Regions from separate parts of the Homo sapiens genome. Here region 2 is linked to region 1. The links are contacts of gene promoters, found by promoter capture Hi-C in human tissues and cell types (Jung and others, 2019). All regions are on one chromosome and are shown on one strand. Each heading gives the region's core, a stretch centred on a gene start or on the middle of the fragment in contact. The rest is flanking DNA. Distances are from core to core; before and after follow the strand shown. Region 1 holds the start of BAIAP2L1 (BAR/IMD domain containing adaptor protein 2 like 1). Region 2 has its middle 50 kb from the start of BAIAP2L1.

Region 1 (6,132 bases), core at 1,349-3,848:
CCAAAACACTAACAAGGAAATAGTAATTAAAACGAACAAACATTTAGTGAGCTTTCCAGTTTGCTTTCAGACACCTGGCAATGGAAAACTATCAGGTACTGGTCTTTGATCTCCATTTACAGTGCCTTACGTCTACAAATACGTATAACCAAAATGATGAAATCCACACTTTTTCCCTGCCGTTTCCGTTCTTTGGGTAATAAGACATGCCCAAGTGGTTGGCATTTGTGACGCTGCAATTCGCCTTGGTACGGTCCCTCTAAGGAGTTATTACTAAAAGTCTACGTCAGGAAGAAGCGGGAGAAAAAAAGCAGGGTTTAACTCAGAACACCTGACTGCTGGTCTCAAGTTGCAATCGCAGCTCAGACTGGGAAGATACACAGGGCTGTTCTTGGAAGAAGGGCGGAAGGCAGTGGTGTTCTGTATTTTTGCACCCCAGTGGACATCAGACTCTGCCTCAAATTTGCAATGGCCTGCCTTCCTCAATTACACAGTTTTTCCTTCACTGACAGTCAACAGAGCAGCCACTACTTACTTTCCAGGTCTGAGTCTGGCAGAAAGAACGTTTTATTTACACACTTGGTCAGTACCCCACACCTCATGCAGCAACGTCTTCCGGGTCATTTAAATAGTAGCAATCTCAATACAAATGTAGGAATTTCTCAAATTTCGAATTTCTCAAATTTCTAAAGATCGCCCTCTATGAAGGCAACACACGAATAGAAGAGTTTTTGGTCACAGTGACTGAGCATCAAAAACGCTGTGTCAACTGTGTCTACTCTCCCTACCTGTAAGGCATAATTTATATGTGACAGTATACACTTTGTGTGTTAAGATAAACGGAACGGATCTCTTGGATTTCAATACATAACAAAAATGTTCATGTTCTTCTCTTACTTTCATTCAACAAAAGTTAATAGACTCCTCTGATTTTAGGAATTCAGACCTTGAAAACCCAGAAACTAAAATTTTAGGTTTAAAAAAGTCTATCAAAATGACTAAACTTCCTGATTCAAGCACCAGGGACAGAAAAAAGATAAAACACACCAACCAACCAACCGACCAACCATTTATTTATAACCTTAAACATGCCTATACATGAACTTAGAGAACGTTAAAGTTTCAAGGGTTCGAAGCGCCTAGGCTGAATTAAAACAAAAGTTGTTTTGTGTTCTATTAATAGCAGATGATTAACAGATATCTTATTTCACCTGGAATTCATTTGTAAGTATGTAAACTAAACAGGCCACTAATCCTAAGTCTCTGTCTGTGTCTGGAAAAATTCTCTCCTAATACATGCAAGTTAAGAGACCGGCTATCAACGCATTCCTTAAGGTTAGGTCAATTTCATTAAAACCTCGGTTGTTCTTTGACTTCAAGAACCTCACCAAATAACCCATATATAAAAGCCAAGTTCAACTGAAAGGTGGGAGAGGAAGGGTCTAAGGAGGAGGGCGTTTCCCGGGAGAACGCCCAGAGCTCGGCTCACCTGGCGATCCTAATTACAGGGGAGTTTCACCCCCACATTCTTGGGCGCTTTCTTTTCTTAGAGGAAACTCGAGCTTGTGTCTTTGGTCCCGGAGGGCTTAAGCCCGGCAGCCAGGACAGCACGGGTCACTGATTCCAAGAAGTTGGGAGGAGGACGTGGGCCCCACCGACGCACAACAGACCCCTCCCCAACTTAAGTGCACTAGTTGTAAAATGTGTAGCTGGTCAGGGGATGGGGGGTGGTCTCCAGAGCTCTGAGGGTCAGGGAAGAGGAGAAGGGACGGGGAGGAGAAGGGACAGGGGAGGCGGAGAAGGGCCAGGAGAGGAGGGGGAGACACACGGGGAAGGAGGAAGAACCAAGAGGAGGGGGAGGGGGAGGGGGAGGGAGGGGGATAGACTGGGGAGAAGAAGGGACAGGGGAGGAGGGGGAGACACACGGGGGAGAAGGAAGAACCAGGAGGAGGGGAGGGACAGTGTCGAGGGGCAGGGGAGGAGGGAGAGTGAACGGGGAGCGGAGGGGCAGAGGGAGAGGTACAGCGGGGCGGGAAAGAGAGACAGGGAAGAAGCACAGGGAGGAGGGGAGGGAAGGAGGAGGAAAAGTAGGGGGGAGGGGATGGGGAGGGACTGGGAGGAAGGAGAGGGCCAGGGGAGGAAGAAGAGGGGCTGTGGAGGGCCAGGGGAGGAGTGGGAGAGACCGGGAGAGGTGGAAGGACGCGGGGGAGGGGAGCTGGAGGGAGGGAAAGTACCTTCCCGCGTAAAGTCCCCTTCTGAACCCCGAGGTGGAAAGCCCTGACCTCCCTGAGCCCCGGGCCCTGGGCTTACCCGGTAGGTGCTCTCCGTGAGCCGGTTCACCTCCTCGGGCCCCCGGGACATGGCTGCGGCCGCCGGGCGAGCAAGCGCGGGAGGACGCGGCTGGGCCTCGTGGCCGCCGGACTCCGGGCAGCGGGAGGGCCGGGGCGCGACTAAGGGGCTCTGGAGGGTCGGCCGCCGCCGCAGCCGTCGGCCCGAGAGTGCCCGCGCGCGTCTCCGCTGCGAAAATGTCAAAACTTGCGGCAGCGCCGCCCTGGCCTTCTTCGAGGAGCAGAGGAGAAGCGGCCGGACGCCGCCAGAGGAAGCTGGGCGGGCCGGGCGGCCCCACCTGAGGCGGGCGGGGCAGACGGGGGCGGGGCCGCAGGGCCGGAGGGGCGTGGCGTACCCACCTGAGGCGGCCTGGTGAGCGGGGCCCGGCCGGGGTGGGCGGGGAGGAGGCGGGGCCAGGCAGCTGGAATGGGCGTGGCCAGAGGGAAGCGGGCCCCCCGAGTGGGCGGGGTCACCCCACCTGTGGCGGACAGGGCAGCGAGGCCACGGTGCGCCCCCTCGCGGCTCTCCCAGAGCTCCGGCGACGTAGGGCCCGAGACCCTGGAGTGGGGACCGGTGTGGAGTGGGCTGCTCGCTTTGCTGTTTTGCTAGGGCAAGGGCAGCCTGGGGGTGTTTAGACTGTGGTCCTGGAGCCCTTGTTTGCCTCGCGTGGTGCTGGCCCCGGGGACCCCGAGGCCCACTTCCTCCATGAGGGCTTCCTTCAAGCCCTGCGTTTTGGGGACCAAGGGAAGGGGCCACATTCCCCAGTTGTATTGATTTCCCTGATTGATCTCTTCTTGCCCCGCCGCTCACTGACCCCAAAAGTTAGAGGGACCCGTGGGGGCATCGGCCCTCCTAGGTGGAGAAAACGGGCTGCCACTTGCAGTTTTGAAAGCTCCTGATATATCAAAAAATTAATAAATGCCAGGGTCTAGTTACCGAAATGTTAGTACTTTTTTTTTTTTGAGATGGAGTCTCACTCTGTCGCCTAGGCTGGAGTGCAGTGGTGCGATCTCAGCTTGCTGCAACCTCCGCTTCCCAGGTTCAAGCGATTCTCCTGCCTGGCATGAGCCATCCTGCCTGGCCCCCAGATAGAAGCTTTTTGTTTGTTTTTGAGACAGAGTTTCACTCTTGTCCCCTCAGGCTGGAGTGCAGTGGTGCTCTCTCAGCTTGCTGCAATCTCTGCCCCCCAGGTTTAAGCAATTCTCCTGCCTCAGCCTCTCGAGTAGCTGAGATTACAGGTGCACGTGCCACCAAGCCAGGCTAATTTTTTTGTATTTTTAGTAGAGACGGGGTTTCACCATGTTGGCCAGGTTGGTCCCGAGCTCCTAACCTCAGGTGATCCGCCCTGCTCAGCCTCCCAAAGTGCTGGGATTACAGGCTTGAACCACCGCGCCCGGCCCAGTAGTACATTTTTAAACTTTACATTAACAACGACCTTTAACTCAATGCAGTGTAACCATGCTACTCACGAGATTGTTGTAGGGTTTAGAAAACCACCTGAGCTGAAGTGTTAGGGAAGCCTCTCTTCTTGTCATCACTCAAACTCTGTGGAGGTGTGTGGCTCCTGGGCTCCCTATTTTGTCTCCATCCCGGCCTCAGCCCTGCCCAAGGGTGAGGCAGCTGCCTTCTTTGGGCCTCTCTTCCAGGATTATGTACCTTGGGCTGGGTGACAGCCTTCTCCCCAGTAAGAACCACCATTTAGCTACCTGAGACCCGCACCCAACAAGGGCAGAGGTCTTATTCTGATTTTTTAAAACCTCTGGGCTTGGTGGCTCATGCCTGTAATCCTAGCACTTTGGGAGGCCAAGGCAGGCGGATCACTTGAGGTCAGGAGTTCGAGACCAGCCTAGCCAACATGGTGAAACCGCCCTGCCCCCGTCTCTACTAAAAATACAAAAATTAGCCAGGCATGGTAGCACGTGCACCTGTAATCTCAGCTACTCGGGAGGCTGAGGCAGGAGAATTGCTTAAACCTGGGAGGCAGAGATTGCAGTGAGCTGAGATAGCACCACTGCACTCCAGCCTGAGGGACAAGAGCGAAACTCTGTCTCAAAAACAAACAAACAAAAAGCTTCTATCTGGGGGCCAGGCAGGATGGCTCATGCCTGTAATCCGAGCACTTCGGGAGACCAAGGCAGGAGGACTGGTTGAGTCTAGGAGTTCGAGGCCAGCCTAGGCAATATAGGGAGCCCACCCCCATCTCTGCAAAAAATATAATTAAAAACATTAGCCAAGTGTGATAGTGTGCATCTGTAGTCCCAGCTATTCCGGAGGCTGAGGTAGGAGGATGGCTTGAGCCCAAGAGGTTGCAGTGAGCTGTGATGGTGCCACTGCATTCCAGCTTGGGCCACAGAGTGAGACTCTGTTTCAAAAAACAAACAAAAATGCCAAAACGTCTATGTGAGTGCAATTGCATCTTTTATGGGCTGTTAAGATGTGAGACTTCTGGCCAGGCGCAGTGGCTCACGCCTGTAATGCCAGCACTTTAGGAGACTGAGGCAGGCAGATCACCTGAGGTCAGGAGTTTGAGACCAGCCTGACCAACATGGAGAAACCCCGTCTATACTAAAAATACAACATTGACCAGGTTTGATGGTGCATGCCTAAATCCCAGCTACTCAGCAGGCTGAGGCAGGAGAATCACTTGAACCTGGGAGGCTGAGGTTGTGGTGAGTGAGATCACGCCATTGCACTCCAGCCTGGGCAACAAGAGCGAAAATTTGTCTCAAAAAAAAAAAAAAAAGAAAAAGAAAAGAAAAGAAAAAAGAAAGATGTGAGACTTCTAAACTAATCTTGTGATAAAGTTCACTAGGAAATATACACAATGAAGGCACTGTGTGGCCCAGATGGGAACATCAAGAGGGTGAGTACCACTGGACTTAGAACAGAAACCACCACCTGGACTTGGGGACTGTTTTATTGGGTTTTGCAAACTATAAAACACATCATGCAGCTAGGCACAGCGGCTCACGCCTGTAATCCCAGCACTTTGGGAGGCCAAGGTGGGTGGATCACTTGGGGTCAGGAGTTAGAGATCAGCCTCACCAATATGGTGAAGCCCCGTCTCTACTAAAAATACAAAAATTAGCCGGGTGTGGTGGCAGGCACCTGTAGTCCCAGCTACTCGGGAGGCTGAGACAGGAGAAGCGCTTGAACCCGGGAGGCGGAGGTTACAGTGAGCCGGGATCTCATGCCACTGCACTGCAGCCTGGGCAAGAGAGTGAGACTCTGTCTCAAAACAAACAAGCAAACAAAAAAAACTTACCATTCTTGGGAACCAAAATGTTATGTCTTCCTGATGTTAGGGGGAAATAACACATCAGTCCCAAGTTTCTGGCAATGGAAGCAGGTGCCTTCTTCTTTAACAGATTTACAGTATTTAGTTCATGAGGTTTGCCAACTGGGTTTCACTTCCCATATGGGAGATGCATTCATGACTTTATAATTTCTACCATTATGTATTCGGCTCTGCAAGTATGTCTGTTGGTTTTTATTGAAACTTGAAAATAGGCTGGGCGCGGTGGCTCACGCCTGTAATCCCAGCACTTTGGGAGGCCGAGGCGGGTGGATCACAAGGTCAGGAGATCGAGACCATCCTGGTCAACGTGGTGAAACCCCGTCTCTACTAAAATACAAAAATCAGCCGGGCGTGGCAGTATGTGCCTGTAGTCCCAGCTACTTGGGAAGCTGAGGCAGGATAATTACTTGAACTCGGGTGGCGGAGGTTGCAGTGAGCCGAGATCGTGCCACTGCACTCCAGCCCGGGCGACAGAGTGAGATTCTGTCACAAACAAACAAACAAAC
Region 2 (6,290 bases), core at 2,683-5,182, 50 kb after region 1:
ATATTACATTTAAAAAATTGCTGACCAGCCAGGCATGGTGGCTCATGCCTGTAATCCCAACACTTTGGAAAGCCAAGGTGGGAGGATCGTTTGAGGCCAGGAGTTTGAGACCAGCCTGGGCAATATAGCAAGACCCCATCTCTACAAAAAATTTTAAAAAATTAGCTGAGCATGGTGGTGTGCACCTGTAGTCCCAGCTACCTGGAAGGCTGAAGCTGGGGACGATTGCTTGAGCCCAGGAGGTAGGGGTTGCAGCGAGCTATGGTTGTGCCACTGCACTCCAGTGTGGGTGACAGAGCGAGGCCCTGCCTCCTAAAAAAGAAAAAAAAAATTGGGCCAGGCGCGGTGACTCATGCCTGTAATCCTAGCACTTCGGAAGGCCAAGGCGGGCAGATCACCTGAGGTCAGGAGTTTGAAACCTGCCTGGCTAACGTGGTGAAACCCCATCTCTGCTAAAAATACAAAAACATTAGCTGGGCATGGGAGCAGGCACCTGTAATCCCAGCTACCTGGGAGGCTGAGGCAGGAGAATTGCTTGAACCTGGGAGGTGGAGGTTGCAGTGAGCTGAGATTGCACTACTGCACTCCAGCCTGGGTGACAGAGTGAGACTCCGGCTCAAAAAAAAAAAAAAAAGAAAAAGAAAAAGAAAAAAGAAAATTGGTGACCCAATATTGTACTATAGTTTTGCAAGATGCTACCACTGGGGGAAACCAGGTAAGGGAGTTCAAGAGCTCTCTCTGTATTATTTCTTACAACCGCATGTGAATCTACAATCATCTGAAAATGAAAAGTTTAATTAAAAAAAATTGGTGACCCAGAAAATCAGGACGTGAATGGAGCAATAGGCAGCTTGGGGCAGGTGTTACTCATTTTTATTCATCAGTTCCTAAATCTGCAAGGAGTTTGGGGGCAGCTCATAGAGGCAGACACAGCCAGGAACAGTGAAGGGGCTGTTCGTGGTGTCTGAGGGGATGGTGGCAGCGGCTGTGGCTCCTGAGCGTCTGTCCTTCCTGGTGGTCTGGTGTTGAGGGCTGATGGGGTGGACAGCAGCTCATCTCTTGGAGGTCCTGCCAAGTAAAGGGGTGAACTTGGTTCTAGAAGACAATGTCCTTGGCTCTGAGGACGCTGACTTCAGCACTCACCTCCTCTAGCAATTTCAGGTCACTTGGGCAGTGGGACAGACACAGGGGCAGGAAACTATGGGTAGGAGAGGAGGCCAGGATAAGCCCGGTTGGTGTTCACTTACAAGCTTTCCTTCGCTAGAGTCAGGGCTCCCGGTGGGGAGAGGAACATTTCATCTTAAGATATTTGCAGATTTATTCACGGAACTTCCCACATATCTGGATGAGGATATACGACTTGCCCCCTGGAGGAAAGAGTTAAATGAATCGCTAAAGCACAAAATGTTCCTGTAAAATTGCTTCTATATTTTATTAGACGCAGATGAGCATGAATTATTGTGAAGCCAGCAGGGGAGTTTGCAAATTTGGTTCTTGCCTTTTTCCATCAACAACCCCCAATCACCTAGATGGTGATGGAAGGACTGGTTGAGGGATGCTGGTTTGGGGTAGGACCCTTGAATAAAGAGCTCATTCACTTGTTAATTCATCCAGCCATCAGAGGTTTATGGGGCACCTACTGTATGTCAGGGAAAGCAAGCACAATTACAGCTTGCAGGTATCATTCTTGTTAATCTACCTTCCAACGACACCACCAAGGTCCTTCTGAGATGCGCCATTTTTGTTTCACGGTTATGTTGAGGATGGCATTTGGGGGAGGAAGCTTCCTTTTGAGCCTCTCAGAGTGCCACTCTTATCTGTGCCATAGAAAAGAAGTCACATTTCACCTACCCCTCCACGGTCAGAAATGCAAATTAACATGAAATTCCACTTTCCAACAATCTCCCGATTTGCATCAAGGTGTAAAACTCCTTGGGAGGAAAATGGACACAGTTGTGCAAAATTGGTTTTCTAGCTGAATAGATCTGATTAGTTTCTTACACTCGGTGTGGCTCTGTCAATTTATTTTTTCTTTTCTTTTTTATTTTATTTTATTTATTTATTTATTTATTTTTTGAGAGTCTCACTCTGACCCTCAGGCTGGAGTGCAGTGACATGATCTCAGCTCACTGCAACCTCTGCCCCTAGGTTCAAGTGATTCTGCTGCCTCAGCCTCCCGAGTAGCTCGGATTATAGGCACGTGCCACCACACCCGGCTAATTTTTGCATTTTTAGTAGAGACGGGGTTTTACAATGTTGGCCAGGCTGGTCTTGAACTCCTGAGCTCAGATGATCCACCTGCCTCGGCCTCCCAAAGGGCTGGGATTACAGGCGTGAGCCACCATGCCCAGCCAAAAATTTTTTTAAAAAGAAAAAATAGTGGCTGGGCATGGTGGCTCATGCCTGTAATCCCAGCCCTTTGGGAGACAGAGGTGGGAGGACTGATTGAGGCCAGGAGTTTGAGACCAGCCTGGGCAATATAGTGACACCCCATCTCTATAACAAATAAAAAATTAGCCAGGTGTGGTAGTGCGTGCCTGTAGTCCCAGCTACCTGGGAGGCCGAGGCAGCAGGGTCACTTGAGCCTGGAGTTCAAGACCAGCCTAGGCAACATAATAAGACCCCATCCCTGGAAAAATTACAAAAATTAGCCAGATGTGATGGCATGAGCCTGTAGTCCAAGCTATTCAGGAGGCTGAGGTGGGAGGATCACTTGAGCACAGGAGGTTGAGGCTGCAGTGAGCCATGATAGCACTGCTGCCCTTCAATTTAGGAAACAGAGCAAGACTCTGTCTCAAACAAAATTTATTTATTTATTTTTGAGACGGAATCTCACTCTGTTGACCAGGCGGGAGTGCAGTGGCACAATCTTGGCTCACTGCAACCTCCGCCTCCCAAGTTCAAGCGATTCTCCTGTCTCAGCCTCCACAGTAGCTGAAATTACAGACATGTGCCACCATGCCTGGCTAAGTTTTGTATTTTTAGTAGAGGCAGGGTTTCACCATGTTGGCCAGGCTGGTCTCAAACTCCTGACCCCAGGTGATCTGCCAGCCTTGGCCTCCCAAAGTGCTAGGATTACAGGCGTGAGCCACAGAACCCAGCCAAAAATTTATTTTTAAGTTTTTTTTCATTTCAGTAGCTTGAGGGGTACAAGTGGGTTTTGGGATGTGGAAGAATTGTATGGTGGTGAAGCCTAGGATTTTAGAGCCTCTGTCACCTGAGTAGTGTACTTTGTATCCAATAAGTAGTTTTTCATCGTCACCCACTACCATCATCCCCTTTCTGAGTCTCCAATGTCCCCACTCTGCATGTCTTTGCATACCCATAGCTTAGCTCCCACTTATTGGTGAGTACATGCAGTATTTGGTTTTCTGTTCCTGAGTTACTTCACTAAGGATAATGGCCTCCAGTTTCATCCAAGTTGCTGGAAAAGACATTCTTTCTTTCTTTCTTTTTTTTTTTTTTTTTTTTTTTTTTGAGACAGGGTCTTGTTCTGTCACCCAGGCTGGAGTGCAGCAGTACACAGCTCACTGCAGCCTTGACCTCCTGGGTTCAAGCAATCCTCCCACCTCAGCCTCCCAAGTAGCTGGGACTACAGGTGTGCACCACCATGCCCAGCTAATTTTTAAATTTTTCATAGAGATAGGGGTCTCACTATCTCTATGATTGCCCAGGCTGGTGTTGAACTGCTGGCCTCAAGCAATTCTCCTGTCTTGGCCTCCCAAAGTGCTGGGACTACAAGCATGAACCACCTCACCCTGCCCCTATTTCGTTTTTTTTTTTTGAGATGGAGTCTCGCTCTGTCACCCAGGCCAGAGTGCAGTGGCATCACTGCAACCTCCATTTCTTGGGTTCAAGTGATCCTCCCACCTCAGCCTACCTAGTAGGTGGGACTATAGGTGCATGCCACCATGCCTGGCTAATTTTTGTATTTTTAGTAGAGATGGGGTTTCACCATGTTGTTCAGGCTGGTCTGGAACTCTTGAGCTCTGGCAATCCTCCCTCCTTGGCCTCCCAAAGTGCTGGGATTACAGCATGGGCCACCGCACCCAGCCTAATATGTAATCTTAATTGAGAGCCACAAGCATTCGTTCATCAGATATCATTTGGTAGTTTTTATTTAATGGGTATATGTCTTTGAAGGTGATGCCACATTGGAAACGGGTCCCATGGGATTAATTTGGATTACCTTTAGGGAGTGACCATCAGAATTTTGGAACTCAGCTGTTGTGTTCAGTTGAGTCACTTATTAACGTAATCACCCAAAGCTGGGTGCAGTGGCTCACACGTATAATCTCAGCACTTTGGGAGGCCAAGGCAGAAAGATGGTTTGAGCCCAGGAGCTAGACACCAGCCTGAGCAACATAGTGAGACCCCATCTCTACCAAAAAAAAAAAAAAATTAGCCAGTCCGGGCGTGTGGCTTACATCTGTAGTCCCAGCTATGCAGGAGGCTGAGGCGGGAGGATGGCTGGAGTCTGGAAGGTCAAGGCTGCAGTAAGCCACGATTACACAGCTGCACTCCAGCCTGGGCAACAGAGCAAGACCCCAACTCAACAAAATAAAATAATCACCCAAGATCTGAGCTGTTGTATAATTAAAATTTTGTTCTAGAATAAAGAATTTCCCTGGTTTCTGAAAGGGAGCGTCTAAGTTCTTGGAATTTCCTGAGTGATAGGAGTGTGTGTTATTCACACAGACTGCCCATACCTGAGTTTATGTTAATGAGGTGACTTGGGATGGGAGCTGGCCATGCCAGGAAGTCCAATCGTGTGATTACAGGGTTGGGGCTTTGAGCCAGATGATATCAGCCCAGTCTGTGGGGTGGGGTAGGGTGGGAGGCTGGAGACTGAGTTCAGTCACATGGCCAGTTATTCAATTAATAATGTCTATGATGAAACCCTAGTAAAAACTGTGGACACTGAGGCTTGGGGGAGCACCCTTGTTGATGAACATAGAGGTGTGCCAGATTCTATGGGGAGAGGGCCTAGAGACCATGCATTTGAGACCCTGCCCCCTCCCACCACCCTCAGGCCTTGCCCTATGTGTCTCTTTGTTTAGCTTGTCCTGATTTGTACTCTTTATAATAAAACTGTAATTGCAAATATAGAACTTACCTGAATTCTGAGTCATTTTAGTAAATTATTGATCCCGAGGAGGATCATGAAACCTCTTCCCCTCCCAGATTGGTGGCCAGTTGGTCAGAAGTGCATGTGTCTTGGTGACCCCTGAACTGGCCTCTGAAATGAGGGCGGTGTTGCTGGGAACCATGCTCTTAAACCTGTGGAGTCAGATGTTAACTCCAAGTGCCTGGCGTCAGAATTGCATCGCAGTAATTGCAGAGCCAAGAGAACGCCACACCGTATTTCATTTTGTCAGCCAAGAAATGATCTCTCGAGGGCTTATTTTGTGCCAGGCCTGGTGGTGGGTGCCACAGGTACCACCTAACTGTTGAATGTTATGTTACTGAAGGAATTCATCAGGCTTAAAATAGCACCTGTGTCAAAGGGACGACACTGTGAAAAGCATGCCGTGATCGGAATTACTATTTTTGGGAGGATGCACAGATTTGGAGGACCAGATTTTCCCATACATTCATTAAACCAAGGAAGTCAAAAAGCTTCATGAAGTTAAAGGCTGGAAAGGAATTTTTAGCATTACCTTAAGAGGTGTCCCATTTCTTAAGAACTTGGAGTCATTTCTTGATGGAGAAAGGATTCCGGTGGCAGACACTGTGGTCCTATCCATGAGCTCTCCTTGGGATGTGCCAGTTGTGGTGAGTTTGCTGGGGGAAATGTTTGAGACCACTGTTAGCAAGGACTTGAGAAGTGCACCAGGCATAGTGTACCAAGAGCAGGAGGAAGGGCTTGAGGTCTCTTTGAGTCCTCATGTGGATGGGTGGGCCCATGACAGAGAAGCACTAGTAGATGAATGTCTGTAAGATCCCATATTGGGGCTGGGAGCAGTGGCTCATGTCTGTAATCCCAGCACTTTGGGAAGCCGAGGCAGGCAGATCACGAGGTCAGGAGATCAAGACCATCTTGGCTAACACGGTGAAACCCTGTCTCTACTAAAAATACAAAAAATTAGCCAGGCATGGTGGCGGGCACCTGTAGTCCCAGCTACTCGGGAGGCTGAGGCAGGAGAATGGCGTGAACCCGGGAGGCGGAGCTTGCAGTGAGCCGAGATTGCGCCACTGCACTCCAGCCTGGGCAACAGAGTCAGACTCCGTCACAAAAAAAAAAAAAAAAAAAAAGCTCCCATATGATCCCATATTGGGGGTTTTCCTGT

The links. Contacts are between HindIII fragments. The study calls those that stand out against the background at their distance.
Region 2: a contact is called between a fragment that was not itself captured here and the fragment with the promoter of BAIAP2L1 in region 1, in 1 of the 25 tissues and cell types used here (neural progenitor cells).

The regions. Positions count from the first base shown.
Region 1 is chr7:98,398,492-98,404,623 of GRCh38, forward strand. BAIAP2L1 (BAR/IMD domain containing adaptor protein 2 like 1) reads right to left here and starts at 2,599. Exons shown (of 14, transcript NM_018842.5): 1 at 2,311-2,599. The coding sequence starts at 2,361. RefSeq lists a silencer at 2,273-2,932. The HindIII fragment of the contact is 4,393 bases long and covers 1-3,911 here.
Region 2 is chr7:98,447,573-98,453,862 of GRCh38, forward strand. No RefSeq gene overlaps it. Among named protein-coding and RNA genes, the nearest start is that of BAIAP2L1, 50 kb to the left of the region's middle. The HindIII fragment of the contact is 4,832 bases long and covers 1,517-6,290 here.